Linked DNA regions of Homo sapiens: all the other regions are linked to region 1. Evidence: promoter capture Hi-C in 16 types of primary human blood cells and fetal thymus (Javierre and others, 2016). All regions are on one chromosome and are shown on one strand. Each heading gives the region's core, a stretch centred on a gene start or on the middle of the fragment in contact. The rest is flanking DNA. Distances are from core to core; before and after follow the strand shown.

The links. Contacts are between HindIII fragments. The CHiCAGO score rates a contact against its expected background, and 5 or more counts as called.
Region 2: a fragment that was not itself captured here is called in contact with the fragment with the promoter of NOL3 in region 1 in 15 of 17 cell types (erythroblasts, naive CD4 T cells, non-activated CD4 T cells and 12 more); the score reaches 10.1 in erythroblasts.
Region 3: a contact is called between the fragment with the promoter of ZDHHC1 here and the fragment with the promoter of NOL3 in region 1, in 1 of 17 cell types (erythroblasts). The highest score is 5.5, in erythroblasts.
Region 4: the fragment with the promoter of CES4A here is called in contact with the fragment with the promoter of NOL3 in region 1 in 17 of 17 cell types (endothelial precursors, fetal thymus, non-activated CD4 T cells and 14 more); the score reaches 13.3 in endothelial precursors.

What each region holds. Positions count from the first base shown.
Region 1 is chr16:67,168,634-67,172,033 of GRCh38, forward strand. NOL3 (nucleolar protein 3) reads left to right here and starts at 1,905. Exons shown (of 4, transcript NM_001276309.3): 1 at 1,905-1,941. It overlaps HSF4 (heat shock transcription factor 4), which reads left to right. Exons shown (of 13, transcript NM_001374675.1): 10 at 198-303; 11 at 403-468; 12 at 646-715; 13 at 998-1,308. The coding sequence ends at 1,152. RefSeq lists enhancers at 962-1,011, 1,502-1,651 and a silencer at 1,862-2,151. The HindIII fragment of the contact is 13,408 bases long and covers 1-3,400 here.
Region 2 is chr16:67,018,356-67,021,690 of GRCh38, forward strand. It overlaps the pseudogene RN7SL543P. Among named protein-coding and RNA genes, the nearest start is that of CBFB, 9.1 kb to the right of the region's middle. The HindIII fragment of the contact is 5,986 bases long and covers 1-3,335 here.
Region 3 is chr16:67,415,206-67,418,271 of GRCh38, forward strand. It overlaps ZDHHC1 (zDHHC palmitoyltransferase 1), which reads right to left and starts at 1,272. Exons shown (of 12, transcript NM_001323627.2): 1 at 966-1,272. It overlaps LOC124903702 (a long non-coding RNA gene), which reads left to right and starts at 698. Exons shown (of 2, transcript XR_007065093.1): 1 at 698-938. RefSeq lists a silencer at 939-1,328 and an enhancer at 1,161-1,818. The HindIII fragment of the contact is 9,596 bases long and covers 1-3,066 here.
Region 4 is chr16:66,986,695-66,990,015 of GRCh38, forward strand. CES4A (carboxylesterase 4A) reads left to right here and starts at 1,895. Exons shown (of 14, transcript NM_001364782.1): 1 at 1,895-2,136. The coding sequence starts at 2,079. The HindIII fragment of the contact is 37,432 bases long and covers 1-3,321 here.

The DNA of each region.
Region 1 (3,400 bases), core at 655-3,154:
GGTCCCAGGTAGGAAGCAGAGGCACTTTCTCTGTGCCATTTATGGCAGGAGTGGGGAGGTTGGGGGTGGAGAGAGGATGGGGATCCTCTCCTATCATTTTCTAAAGATTGGGGGATTAAAATCTTGATGCATCTGGGTTCCTTGGGAACTTAATGCGGGGTGGACACTGCAGGCCAAAAGCAGTTCTGTCTGCACAGGGGGCCTCTGGGCCTGGAAAGCGGGGACAGGAGCCCAGAGAGTCTGCTGCCTCCGATGCTGCTTCAGCCCCCTCAAGAAAGTGTGGAACCTGCAGGGCCTCTAGATGTGAGTACCCCTTCTGCTGAAACAGGGGCATGAGACCTGGTGGGGTCTAGCTCTCTGTGGAGCCTGGGGAGGGCACCACTGACCCAGAGCTCTCCTCAGGTGCTGGGCCCCAGTCTCCAAGGGCGAGAATGGACCCTGATGGACTTGGACATGGAGCTGTCCTTGGTAAGAAGTGGGTCGGGGAGGGCAGAGGCCAGGGGTGGCTGAGTCAAGCCCTCTGGTCCATAGCTGTTCTCTGTGAGCCAAAGCCGTGTCTCTAGAAGAATTGTCACAGTGATTTCCCAGCTGTCCCCCTCAGCTGCTAGGTCCCCTCCCCAGCTGCTCCCTGCGGTTCTCACGCAGATGCAGCCCTTGGTTCCAGAGCGGGGTGAGCCTGAGCTGGCGGTCAAGGGGTTAAATTCTCCAAGCCCAGGTAATGGTTGTGATGACTCCTACCTGGGAGGACGCCGTGATTGGGCTGAGCTACCTTGATTGAGTGAGGGGGCAATCTGCAATTTGCAGGGAAATCCTGAGTTCAGGCTGCACTGCAGAGCGTTCCTTGAGCCACCCATGCCCTCACCATTGGGCGAGAGTGGGGAGGTTAAGAATGGATGTTTTATCCTAACTGAGCAGAAGGCAGGCGGGCAGGGCTCTCCTTCCCTGAAGAAAGGAGGGGGAACATTTCCCCTGGTGAGCGCAGTCCCACTTCTCCTAGGGAAGGACCCCACGCTCGGGGCCCCACTCCTGCTGGATGTCCAGGCGGCCTTGGGAGGCCCAGCCCTGGGCCTGCCTGGGGCTTTAACCATTTATAGCACTCCTGAGAGCCGGACTGCCTCCTACTTGGGCCCGGAAGCCAGTCCCTCCCCCTAAGACCCCGCGCCTCTGAAGGGGCTTGGAACCAGTCCGCCGCTGCACATCCTTCTTGGCTTCCTGGCGCCCCCTATCGGGGGTGAGCGAAGCCCCCACTACTAAATGGCCTCTCTCCACTACCCCGACTATCCCTGCACATAAACTCCGTTTTTTTTTTTTCTGTTTCTGGTCTCTTTTCTCTATCGACCAGGGAGCACAGGAGTTATGGGTGGGGGGTGATTTTGCATTTGTAGAAGCGTCCAGATACTAGGTTTTTAATAGAGGAACCCCAGGAGGGTGGAGGTGCTTGGGGATCCGGTGCCTAGCTCCCTTGCTTAGGCCCGGGTCCAGGGCTGGCGCGGGGCCGCTGCAATCTCTGGGAAGCGGGGGCTTCTGGGTCGCGCTCAGCTCTGCAATGCATGCGTTCTGTGATCCTGGTGAGTTGGTATCCTTCTCTGAACTTCCTCTGTGACAGGCAGAGAAGAGGGGTCGATGACAAGATAGATGGAAAGCACCTGGAAATTGGCAGGCCCTGAGTGGGCGCTGGACGTGTGGGGCCGCGGGCCGAACTGCCCCCTCCTGGCCTCATCTCCTGGTGCGCCCCGGGTGGGGAGGGAAAGCTGACTACATGCACGTCCCCAGCCAGCGCGCGGCCTCCGCGGTGTGGCTCCTAGTGCCCGGGGAAGAACCCTCACCCTCCCTATTCCCAGCAGCCCTGGCCGCCCCGCCCCCGCCGCAGCTGCTGCACCCACCCCCACCCTGCCCGGCCCTTTCTGCACCGTCATCTCCTGCCCCGCCGAGGCTTGACCCGTGAGTGGGGACGCCCAAAACGGGCCAGACCGGGAGCCCCACTCCCGGCTGTGGGAGGGAAGGGAAACCGAGATTGGGCAGAATCAGCGCCCCACCACCCGCTGCGGCGCTCGGGGGTCGGGGGGGCGGGGTGGGTAGGACTGTGGGCCCCGCCCTGCCGCAGGACTCTCAAGCTCTGGGACTGGGTGGAGGGAGGTAAGGGGCGGGGGGGGAAAATCCGTGCAGTCGCACATGCGCAAAGGCTCTTCACTGTCCCAAGACCCTGGCTTCCTGGCCAAAGAGCCCGCGCAGCGAGGTGGGGTTGGGGGCTGGGACCCAGCTCCGTGCCCCGCCACCTGGCTCTCTGGGAAGAATCGGACCTGTCACCCTCGAAGGACTGGCCGCTAAATAACTTCGGTATTGAGAGCTGTGTGAGCCTCAAAGGGAGGGCCCAGACCAGCTGGAGTCTCTACCCCCAGACAGGATAAAGGGCAGGACTTGGGGTCATAGGAGGAGGCGGCTAACATGAAAACAACTTAGGTTGGAGAGAAGGAGGGGCCAATCCAATCTGCACCCTCCCTGTGTCTGTCCCGAGTAGGTGCTGTCCCCCTCTCCCTTCCTTTGCCCACCGATTGGAGGGACACTCTGGAAAACTCAGTTGAAGAAAGCGGAGAGTCTGCGTGTACACAGTGCAATGATGTCAGTTAATGCACTAGTGAGGGCATGTGTTGTTCACGGTACACAGAAGAAGGAACCACCAGCCCTTGGGACACTTAGGCATTGGTGTAGACAAGGGAACATTTGAGTCCTGGACGATGGATAGGTCCACGGAGCGGAGGGAGGAGAAAAGGATTCCAGTCTTAGCGATCAGCATCAGCAAAGGCTCCGAGGTGCCAGAGGCATAGTGAGTTCTCCGATCCCTGGCTGGTGGAGGGAAGCTGGGAAGGGCCTGGCTGTCCAGGGTGGTGGGAGGAGGCTAGAGTAGCCAGACCAGATATTTTGGGTTGTCTCTGATGGGCAGTGGGGTGTGGGGGGGAGGTAGATAGGTATTTAGGATGGAATTCTGCTAGACAGGAAAATATAGTTCAGTTCCTCATAGTTCAGGCTGGAGCAAGTAAGATTCCAGTTTTACCACTGAATCTCTGAGCCTGTCTCCTCATCTGTAAAATGGGAACAGCAATCCTAGCCCAGAGGGTTGTCAAAGTCACTGTGCTATCGGGCCTGGCAGAATGGGAGTGAGAGGGGCTCAGAGGGACTGTTACAGGACATGAGGTGACGATGGTGGGGTGGCAAGGCAGGAGCTGATGGAGACTCACTGAGAAGTGGAGAAGCAAGATTCATCACATACGGGACATAAAGGGAGATGGAGGGGCAGGGGGTAGTCCTGGTCTCGGCCTGGTGGGGAAGGGCTTCAATGGGAGGAAGCCAGGGTGTGAAGTGACGGGGGAGGTATAGTGTGACACCAGAGGGTACTGAGAAA
Region 2 (3,335 bases), core at 328-2,827, 150 kb before region 1:
CTTTCCAGGCCATGCCCTGGTTCTGGCACTGCTACTGCCCCTGCTCCACTACTAAAGGAGGCAGGCCAGGCCATGCATGGTGGCTCACGCCTGTAATTCCAGCACTTTGGGAGGCCAAGGTGGGCAGATCTCCTGAGGTCAGGAGTTCAAGACTAGCCTGGCCAACATGGTGAAACCCCGTCTCTACTAAAAATACAAAAAATTAGCTGGGCATGGTGGTGCTCGCCTGTAATCCCATCTACTCGGGGGGCTGAGACAGGAGAATCGCTTGAAACGTTGAAACCGGGAGGCAGAGGTTGCAATGAGCAAGATCGCACCACTGCACTCCAGCCTGGGTGACAGAGTAGGACTCCATCTCAAAAAAAAAAAAAAAAAGAATAAAGAAAAAAGAAAAGGAGGCAGGCCACAGGCATTTACTTTTTTTTTTTTTTTTTTTTGAGACGGAATCTTGCTCTGTCGCCCAGGCTGGAGTGCGGTGGAACGATCTCGGCTCACTGCAGCCTCCACCTCCCAGGTTTAAGCTATTCTCGTGCCTCAGCCTCCCAAGTAGCTGGGATTACAGGCATAAGCCACCACACCCAGCTGATTTTTGTATTTTTAGTAGAGATGGGGTCTCGCCATGTTGGCCAGGTTGGTCTAGAACTCCTGACCTCAGATGACCCACCTGCCTTGGCCTCCGAAAGTGCTGGGCTTACAGGTGTGAGCCACTGCACCTGGTTTCAGGCACCCTTTCAGCTCATTGTATGGCATTTTGGCTAGACCTTATGTGAACTCAAATTGTTATCCTGTGCTTCCCTTACTGGCAACGTTTACAGATGGCTTTGTATCAACCAAAGCGTTGTACAACTCATAGCATTTCAGAGCTAGAAGGGACCATAAACAGTGTCATAGCCACCGTTCTTTGAACACTTACAACTTTGTGCTAGACACTAACCCAGGTACCTTCTGATGTTTTTGCCTGCACGGTACAGCCATTCCTTTTCCCGTGACACCACCCTGTCCTCGGCAATTCACCGTGTCCACACCACAGCTCAGGGATGACCAGATAACCCAGACTTGGACTATTAAGCTCAATCTCAAGATTTTTGTAGAAACATCAGGAAAGAGAATGGGTACCACTTGAGGGTGAGTCAGCATGTGAAGGAAGGTAAAACGGAAAACTAGCCAGGTACAGTGGCATGTGCCTGCAGTCCCAGCTACTCGGGAGGCTGAGACGGGAGGATTGCTTGAGCCCAGGAGTTCTGGGCTGTAATTCACTATGTTGATTAGGTGTCTGCACTAAGTGTGGCATCGATATGGTGATCTCCTAGGAACGAGGGACCACCAGGTAGCCTAAGGAGGGGTGAACCAGCCCAGGTCGAAAATGGAGCAGGTCAAAACTCCTGTGCTAATCAGTAGTGGGATCGTGCCTGTGAGTAGCTGTTGCACTCCAGCCTGGGCAATATAGCAAGACCTCATCTCCAAAAAAAAAAAAAAAAAAAGGAATAGTGAAATGAAATAGTTCACACTGAGAAACAGCCTTGAACGAATAAAATAAAATAAAATAGGCTGGGCGCTGTGGCTCACACCTGTAATCCCAGCACTTTGGGAGGCCGAGGAAGGCGGATCACTTGAGGCCAGGAGTTCAAGACCAACCTGAGCAGCAATATAGCAAGACACCCCCACCTCTAAAGAAAAAAAAAATTAAAGAGTTAAGTGACTGCATTTCTTCAACTGCAGGACTTCTCTGGGATCTCTCTCTCTCTGAGTCTACCTGGCTATATGCCCTTGAATGAGTCCAGTCACCTGTTCTGAGTCTCAATTTCAAGAGCTACAAAATAAGACAGTAATTATTTCCCTCTTTATCCTTTATTTATTTATTTAATTTTTTATTTTTTATTTTTTGAGATGGAGTCTTGCTCTGTCGCCCAGGCTGGAGTGCAGTGGCACAATCTCGGCTCACTGCAAGCTCCGCCTCCCGGGTTCACGCCATTCTCCTGCCTCAGCCTCCCGAGTAGCTGTGACTACAGGCACCCGCCACTACGCCTGGCTAATTTTTGTATTGTTAGTAGAGACGGGGTTTCACTGTGTTAGCCAGGATGGTCTCCATCTCCTGACCTCGTGATCCACCCGCCTTGGCCTCCCAAAGTGCTGGGATTACAGGCGTGAGCCACCGCGCCCGGCATTTTTTTTTTTTTTTTTTTTTGAGATGGTGTCTCGCTGTGTCACCCAGGCTGGAGTGCAGTGGCACGATCTTGGCTCACTGCAACCTCTGCCTCCTGGGGTCAAGCGATTCTACCGCCTCAGCCTCCAGAGTAGCTGGGACTACAGGCATGTGCCACGCCCAGCTATTTTTTTGTATTTTTAGTAGAGACAGGGTTTCACCGTGTTAGCCAGGATGGTCTCAATCTCCTGACCTCGTGATCCCCCCACCTCGGCCTCCCAAAGTGTTGGGATTACAGATGTGAGTCACCATGCCCGGCCTTCCCTCTTTATCTTGAAGAAATTAAGGAGAGGCCAGCGAGAGAGTGTTTGGAAAATTGCTTTATGCAGTGGCTTGTGCCTGTAACCCCAGCACTTTCGGAGGCCAAGGTGGTAAGATTACTTGTGCCCAGAAGTTCGAGACCAGCCTGAGCAACATAACAAGACCCCGTCTCTGGAAGAAAGGAAGGAAGGAAGGAAGGAAGGAAGCAAGCAAGCAAGCATGGATTAGCCAGGTGGAGTGGTGTGTGCCTGTGGTCTCAGCTATTGTGAGACTGAGGCAGGAGGATCACTTGAGCCCAGGAGTTTGAGGCTGCAGCGAGCAATGATGCCACCACTGCACCCCAGCCTGGCTAACAGAATGTGACTCTATATTGAAAAAAGAAAAAGTAACAATTAGCCAGACGTGGTGGTGTGCACTTGTAGTCCCAACTACTCAGGAGGCTGAGATGAGGATCGCCTGAGCCCAGGAGTTGGAAACTGCAATCAGCTAGGATCATGCCACTGCACTTGACTCAGGAAGACCCTGTCAAAAAAAAAAAAAAAGAAGAAAAAGAAAAGAAAGAAAGAAGAGAGAGAGAGAGAAAGAGGAAGAAAGAAAGAAAGAGAGAAAGAAATTCACTGAAGGGAAACCTGGGTTGTTCATCTTTGTGTCCATCTCCGTCACCAACACTACCTAAACTGCAAAGCATGCTGGGAGCTCCCACTGGGCAGGAGGGAGCAAGATGAAGTTAGCATAAGCCGGGACTAGGGAAGCTATCAAGCCTGTGGGATGCCTTTGAGGTAGTTGAGTCCAGTCTTGTCTCATAGGCATTGGTGAGGGCACGCTGAGGGGCAATCATTCTGCCCAGCATAGTTTAGAAAGCCTTGTCAGA
Region 3 (3,066 bases), core at 22-2,521, 250 kb after region 1:
CCAGCACTTTGGGAGGCTGAGGCAAGAGGATCCCTTGAGACCAGGAGCTCGAGACCAGCCTGGGCAAAATAGTAAGACCTCATCTCTACCAAAACCTTAAAAAATTAGCTGAGCGTGGTGGCGGGTATCTGTAGTCTCAGCTACTTGGGAGGCTGAGGCGGGAGGATCGCTTGAGCCCGGGAGCCGGAGCCTGCGGTGACCCATGTTCACACCACAGCACTCCAGCCTGGGTGACAAAGGGAGACCTTGTCTCAAAAAAATAAAAAATTGGCTGGGAACGGTGGCTCACACCTGTAATCCCAACGCTTTCGGAGGCCGAGGCGGGTGGATCACCTGAGGTCAGGAGTTCGAGAACAGCCTGGCCAACATGGTGAAACCCCGTCCCTACTAAAAATATAAAACTTAGCCGGGCGTGGCGGCGGGCGCCTGTAATCCCAGCTACTCCAGAGGCTGAGGCAGCAGAATGGCTTGAACCCGGGAGGCGGAGGTTGCAATGACCCGAGTCGTGCCACTGCGCTCCATCCAGCCTGGGTGACAAGAGCGAAACTCCGTCTCAAAGAAAAAACTAAAACTCTTCCCATGGTTTCCTTTTAAAACAGACCCTCCATGACCAACCCCTCCATTTCAATACCAGAGAGCCTAACCCGACCTGAAATCACTTTAGTCATGTATGACATCCGCTTCCCAGCCCCCTTCCTTAATGCTCTGGGTTCTGGAGACAGACCACGTCTGTTGGGAGTCCTCTGTGCCCACGCCTGGCACAGAGCCTGGCAAAGAGTAAGCGCTCAAGGAAGATCTGTGAACTTGATGCATGCTAAAAGGAAGCCCCGCGCTCTGCCGGGGCCCTGGAACTCAGGCCACCGGCTCCAGGCGGAAGCGAGCCCAAAGCCGGCCAGGCGGCAGCATCCGCTACCCCGTGGCTCAAGCCAGGCTCCGAGGTGAGAAACCGGGCGGGGACTCCTCACCTGCGCGCCGCGGAGGCCGTGCCAGATGGGCCCTGCCAAAGTCAGCCAGAGGTTCGGGCCCCACGCCTGGCCTTCCACCCTCCCCGGGGCAGCCGCGCCTCAGACCCTCGCGGTAGGGACGGTCCCCGGGACTGGGCGGCAACGCGCCCGGGAGCGGGGCCCCATCCCGGACGGAGACTGGGCCGGTGAGTCCTCGAGCTCTGGCTCTGGCTCCGGCTCCGGCTCCGGCTCCGGCTCCGGCTCCGGCTCCAGCAGGCTGGAGGGGCGGCCAGGCCAGACCCAGACTGGCTGGGCCTCGTCCGGCGCTGGGCCCGTTCCCCTGACAACGGCGCGGGCTACGGCGCCCCACAGCGGCCAAACCGCGCTGCGTCACTCCGCGCCGGTCCCCCGGCCAGGGCGGGGCTTGCCAGGGACCCTCTTGGTGCCCCAGTCGGCCCATTCCCAGATTCTTCCTAACCTTTCGTCTAGAAAATCCGCTTTTCCCTACTCCCGAGTCACAGCTTGTCTCCCCGAAATCCTAACATCTCAAAAGCGCCCCCTTCCAGTTTCTATCCTGAGACCACCGCTCTCAAGAAGAGACCTCCCCCAACCCCAGTCAACCTGCACACTTCAATGAGCGTATGTGCTGGAACATCCATGATATCCCGACCCTTCCGGGAGCTTACAGGTTAAGAGGCAAACAGATCTAGACAAATAAATTACACCACTAAAAATGCAGGTACCCCAGAATATAAAGCGAGAAGCGTAAGAGCTTAAAATAAGCAGCACAAAATATCTCATTTATTTATTGCCTTTAAATCAAGCAAAAATCAAGCCCCAATCTTCCAGGCTGATGGGAAATTCAGTCTTTTTCTATTTTTTAAACTGGTCTCTGTTACCCAGGCTGGAGTGCAGTGGCACGATCACGGCTCTCTGCAGCCTCGAACTCCTGGGCTCAGGCGATCCTCCCGCCTCAGCCTCCAGAGTAGCTAGGACTACAGGCGAACACCACCACGCCCGACTAATTTTCGCATTTTTTTGTAGAGGCGTGGTTTTGCCATGTTGCCCAGGCTGGTTTCGAACTCCTGAACTCAAGCGACCCGCCCACCTCAGCCTCCAAAAGTGCTAGGATTACAGGCGTGAGCCCCTGCCCGGCCGGGAAATTCAGTCTCAGTCTCCACTGTACTCCTTTTAGCTAGGTAATTCCAAAGGACTCATGTTTTCCTATAGCAAAAAACAACAATCAAAAACAAATAAGCAAAAAACTCTCTGGTCAGGGTTTTGTCTGGTACTGAGGCCACAACCATTGCTCCAGTCCACAAAGATTTTCAGGTTTGGGCTCTATGAGGCCATCCCTGCCTGAGGCCCCTGCCTCTCCCTGGGGCTGCCAGGGACAGACACCTGCTTCCTCTGCTCCATGGCCTGCAGCCTCCCTTCCCTTTCTCTACCTGGGAGACTTCCCTGCTAACTTGGTTTCCCTAAAAGTCCCCTCTCCTCTTCTCCTTGTGGACACTCAGAATGGAATCTTCTATGAGCTCAGGCTTTCTCAAAAGACAGGAAGACACTTTGTCTTCTGCTATCTGTCCTGTGCGCATCTCCAAGGCAGATATGACAGATAGGGAAAGAAAACATCCTTATCTCTAAAATGTATAAGTCACAAGCATACTTATTGTATGTTTTATTAGGCAACATAACTACTCCTTCTCTGTCACATGACAGGTGTGTGGGTCCTTGTGCAAGTGACATAACCTATTACTTAAATTCTTGTTTTCAAGACTGATAAACTCAAACTCAATGTGAGATAAATATCAATGCTATTCTGGCTTCAGAGTACAAGCTGACTACTTAACTCTTATCTGGAATTGGAAAACTTCGGGTCAAACAGAGATCATGACCCAGAAATCAAGGTGAAGGATGAGGCTGGATGCAGTGGCTCACACCTGTAATCCCAGCACTTTAAGGAGGCTGAGGCAGGAAAATCACTTGAAGCCAGGAGTTTGAGACCAGCCTGGGATACATAGAGAGACTCCCATCTCTACAAAAGATGAAAAAAAATAGCTGGGCCTGGTGGCCTGTGCCTATAGTCCCAGCTACTCACGAGGCTGGGGCAGGAGAAAAGAAT
Region 4 (3,321 bases), core at 645-3,144, 180 kb before region 1:
TAAAGACAGGGTCTCACTATGTTGTCCAGGCTGGCCTTGAACTCCTGGCCTTAAGCGGTCCTCCTGCCTTGGCCTCCTAAAGTGCTGAGATTACAGGCGTGAGCCACCACAAGTTAACACGTTATGCTGGGGAGGAGTTAGGGGAGAGATTTTCTTTGTAGAGACCTGTTACCTCGCTGTGAGTTCTCACCCCACTTCTTTCCCCTCAAGCCTGTGGGCATGAGACCATGGGGAAGATGAGTGGTGCTTTCCACCATAGGAGGCTCAGCCAGCCAGAGCCTGACTCCACCCCGCCATCGTGAGTGGGGCAGAAGGGGCTGCAATGGGATGGGCCACACCTCTGCTGAGGTGGGGCAAGGGATATTGGAGGTTTGCCCATGTAGACCCCACAGGATAAGTGGCAGAGGCAGGGGTGGGGGGTCATCTTGGGCCTTCATTAGAGGAGCACAGAGCCCAGGCAGCAATGATTGGGCAGTGAATGCCACATTCCTTGGGACTGAGGAAGGGTCACAAGGATGGGAACTGTGGGAGAGGAGTCCCAAATAAAGAGCATCTCCGAAGAACTCAGAAAATTGACTGTGAAAGAAGGAGGTTTAACCATCTGTCAGGCCTATAGAGCAAGAGGCTGTGGGCCAAGGGAGAAGTTCTCTGTTCCCCTGCCTTTTCCCCTCCCCAGCACAGAAGCCCAACAGACCCTCTTTTCACAAAGATGGGCCAGGACCCCAGACTTTGGGGGTACACGAGAGAGGAAACATCTTACCTTTTTTTTGTTCTTTGAGATGGAGTCTCACTCTGTCGCCCAGGCTGGAGTACAGTGACGCCATCTTGGCTCACTGCAAGCTCCGCCTCCTGGTTTCAAGCAATTCTCTTGCCTCAGCCTCCTGAGTAGCTGGAACTACGGGCGCGTGCCACCACGCCCGGATAATTTTTTGTATTTTTAGTAGGGACGGGGTGTTAGCCAGGATGGTCTCGATCTTCTGACCTCGTGACCCGCCTGCCTCAGCCTCCCAAAGTGTTGGGATTACAGGCATGAGCCACCGTGCCTGGCCTATTTATTTTTGAGACAGGGTCTCACTCTGTCACCCAGGCTGGAGTGCAGTGGCCCGATCTCGGCTCACTACAACCTCCGCCTCCCAGGTTCAAGCCATCCTCCTGCCTCAGCCTCCTGAGTAGCTGGGACTACAGGCACACACTACCACGCCCAGCTAATTTTTGTATTCTTTGTTTTAGTAGAGACGGGGTTTCACCATGTTGGCCAGGCTGGTCTCGAACTCCTGACCTCAGGTGATCCACCTGCCTCAGCCTTCCAAAGTGCTGGTATTACAGGCATGAGCCACCACACCCAGCCCCATCTTACCTTTGACTGAAGATGGGACTGCTGTCTCCTTGCTTCCACCTCCCACACTTGCTCCTGTGGCTCCAAACTTCAAACAGGATCTTTCTTTGCCTGGCCCACTCCTCCTCATCCTTTACTTAGAAGATTAGATCTTTTCCAGGGAATCTTCATTCCCACCACCCGGCTCTGGGCTCACTCCTCGGGTGCCCCTCTGGGCTCCCACATTACGGTTGCTTTCAGGTCCAGCTTCCGCATGTGGACTATGAAACTGTGAGGACAGCCAAGGGTCAGCATGTGCGAGGAAAGGCAGGGAAGAGGCTAGACGAGGCACTGGGGAGCAGGGAGGCCCAAGACCCTTAAATCCACAGACAGGAAGCCCTGGCTGAAGGGCCAAGTAACCAGGTGTTCTACTTCAATCTTGGCACCCACTGTATGCTTAGACCTTGACTCACACATGTTCAGCTTTAAGCCACTGCACAGATGAGCAAACGGGGCGGAGATTGCAGGCTGATCAGTTTGAAGAGCCAAGATCATCTAGCGTGACCTGTTGCCCAAGGCAGAGACAAGGCTGTGGGCTGGTCAGAAGCTGGTTACAATTCCTCCCGCCCCAGTACTTGCTGGCAGGGATTAAGAGCAGATAAAAGTGTGCTCACACACTGTAGACACGGCTACCATGCCATCCACAGTGTTGCCATCCACAGTGTTGCCATCACTCCTGCCCACAGCAGGAGCTGGCTGGAGCATGAGGTGGATTCTGTGCTGGAGCCTCACCCTCTGCCTGATGGCGCAGACGGCCTTGGGTAAGACCCCCACCCCTTCCCGAGAGTGTCAGGCAAGACGGGCACAAGGGATGGAGGGACAGGCCCCAGTTCAACCTCTCCTGGGGACAGCAGGGCAGGAGCACTTAGACAAGGCCTGGGCAAATGGAGGGTAGGGTTTCAGGACACTAAACCATCTACCAGCTGGGAGTCTGGACAAGTCCTTTAGCCTCCCTGAACCTCAGGGCTTCTCTGTATTTCCTGCCTCCCGGCACAGGTGAAGGGGTCTGAGAACATGGCCACATCTTTTCTTCCTTCCCACCTTTTTCCTTCCTTCCATCCTTCTTTCCTTCTCCTAAGCAGGAGGCCTGTCTCTGCCCCCTCTCTGCTACATGAACCTCTTTACCACCTTCAAATTTCTCCCCAATATCTTTCTTTTTAAAATGAGTACTACACTTTTTACTGTGAAAACAATCTAATACATTAACAAAAGTTTACTGAGGTATAAGATGTATACAGCAAGGTGCACACATCTTCACTGTATAATTATATCTATTATACTAATTATTATATATATATATATGGTAACCATTATCCAGATCAACATCTAGAACATTTCCAGTGGGTTAGGCATGGTAGCTCATGCCTGTAATTCCAGCACTTTGAGAGGCTGAGGTGGGAGGATTACTTGAGCCCAGGAGTTTGAGACCAGCCTGGGCAAATAGTGAGACCTAGCCTGGGTAAATAGACTCTGTCTCTATTTTTAAAAAACATTTTTTAAAAAGTTTTTTTAACTTACAAGGATACACCTGTAATCCCAGCACTTTGGGAGGCCGAAGCGGGCAGATCACCTGAGGTCAGGAGTTTGAGACCAGCCTAACCAATATTATTACCCCGTCTCTACTAAAAATACAAAACTAGCCAGGCATGGTGGCACATGCCTGTAATCCCAGCTACTCAGGAGGCTGAGGCAGGAGAATCGCTTGAAGCCAGGAGGCAGAGGTTGTAGTGAGCCGAGATCGTGCCATTGCACTCCAGCCTGGGCAACAAGAGCGAAACTCTATCTCAAAAAAAAAAACAAAAAACCATCTCCAGCGTCCCATGTACTCCTTCTCAGTCAATACTCAAAGTTACCACTAGTCTGACCTCTATCATAAATAAATTTTGCCCATATATACATATATCCATTATTTTAAATTTGAAGGAAACTTTGCTTACTCCGCTTTT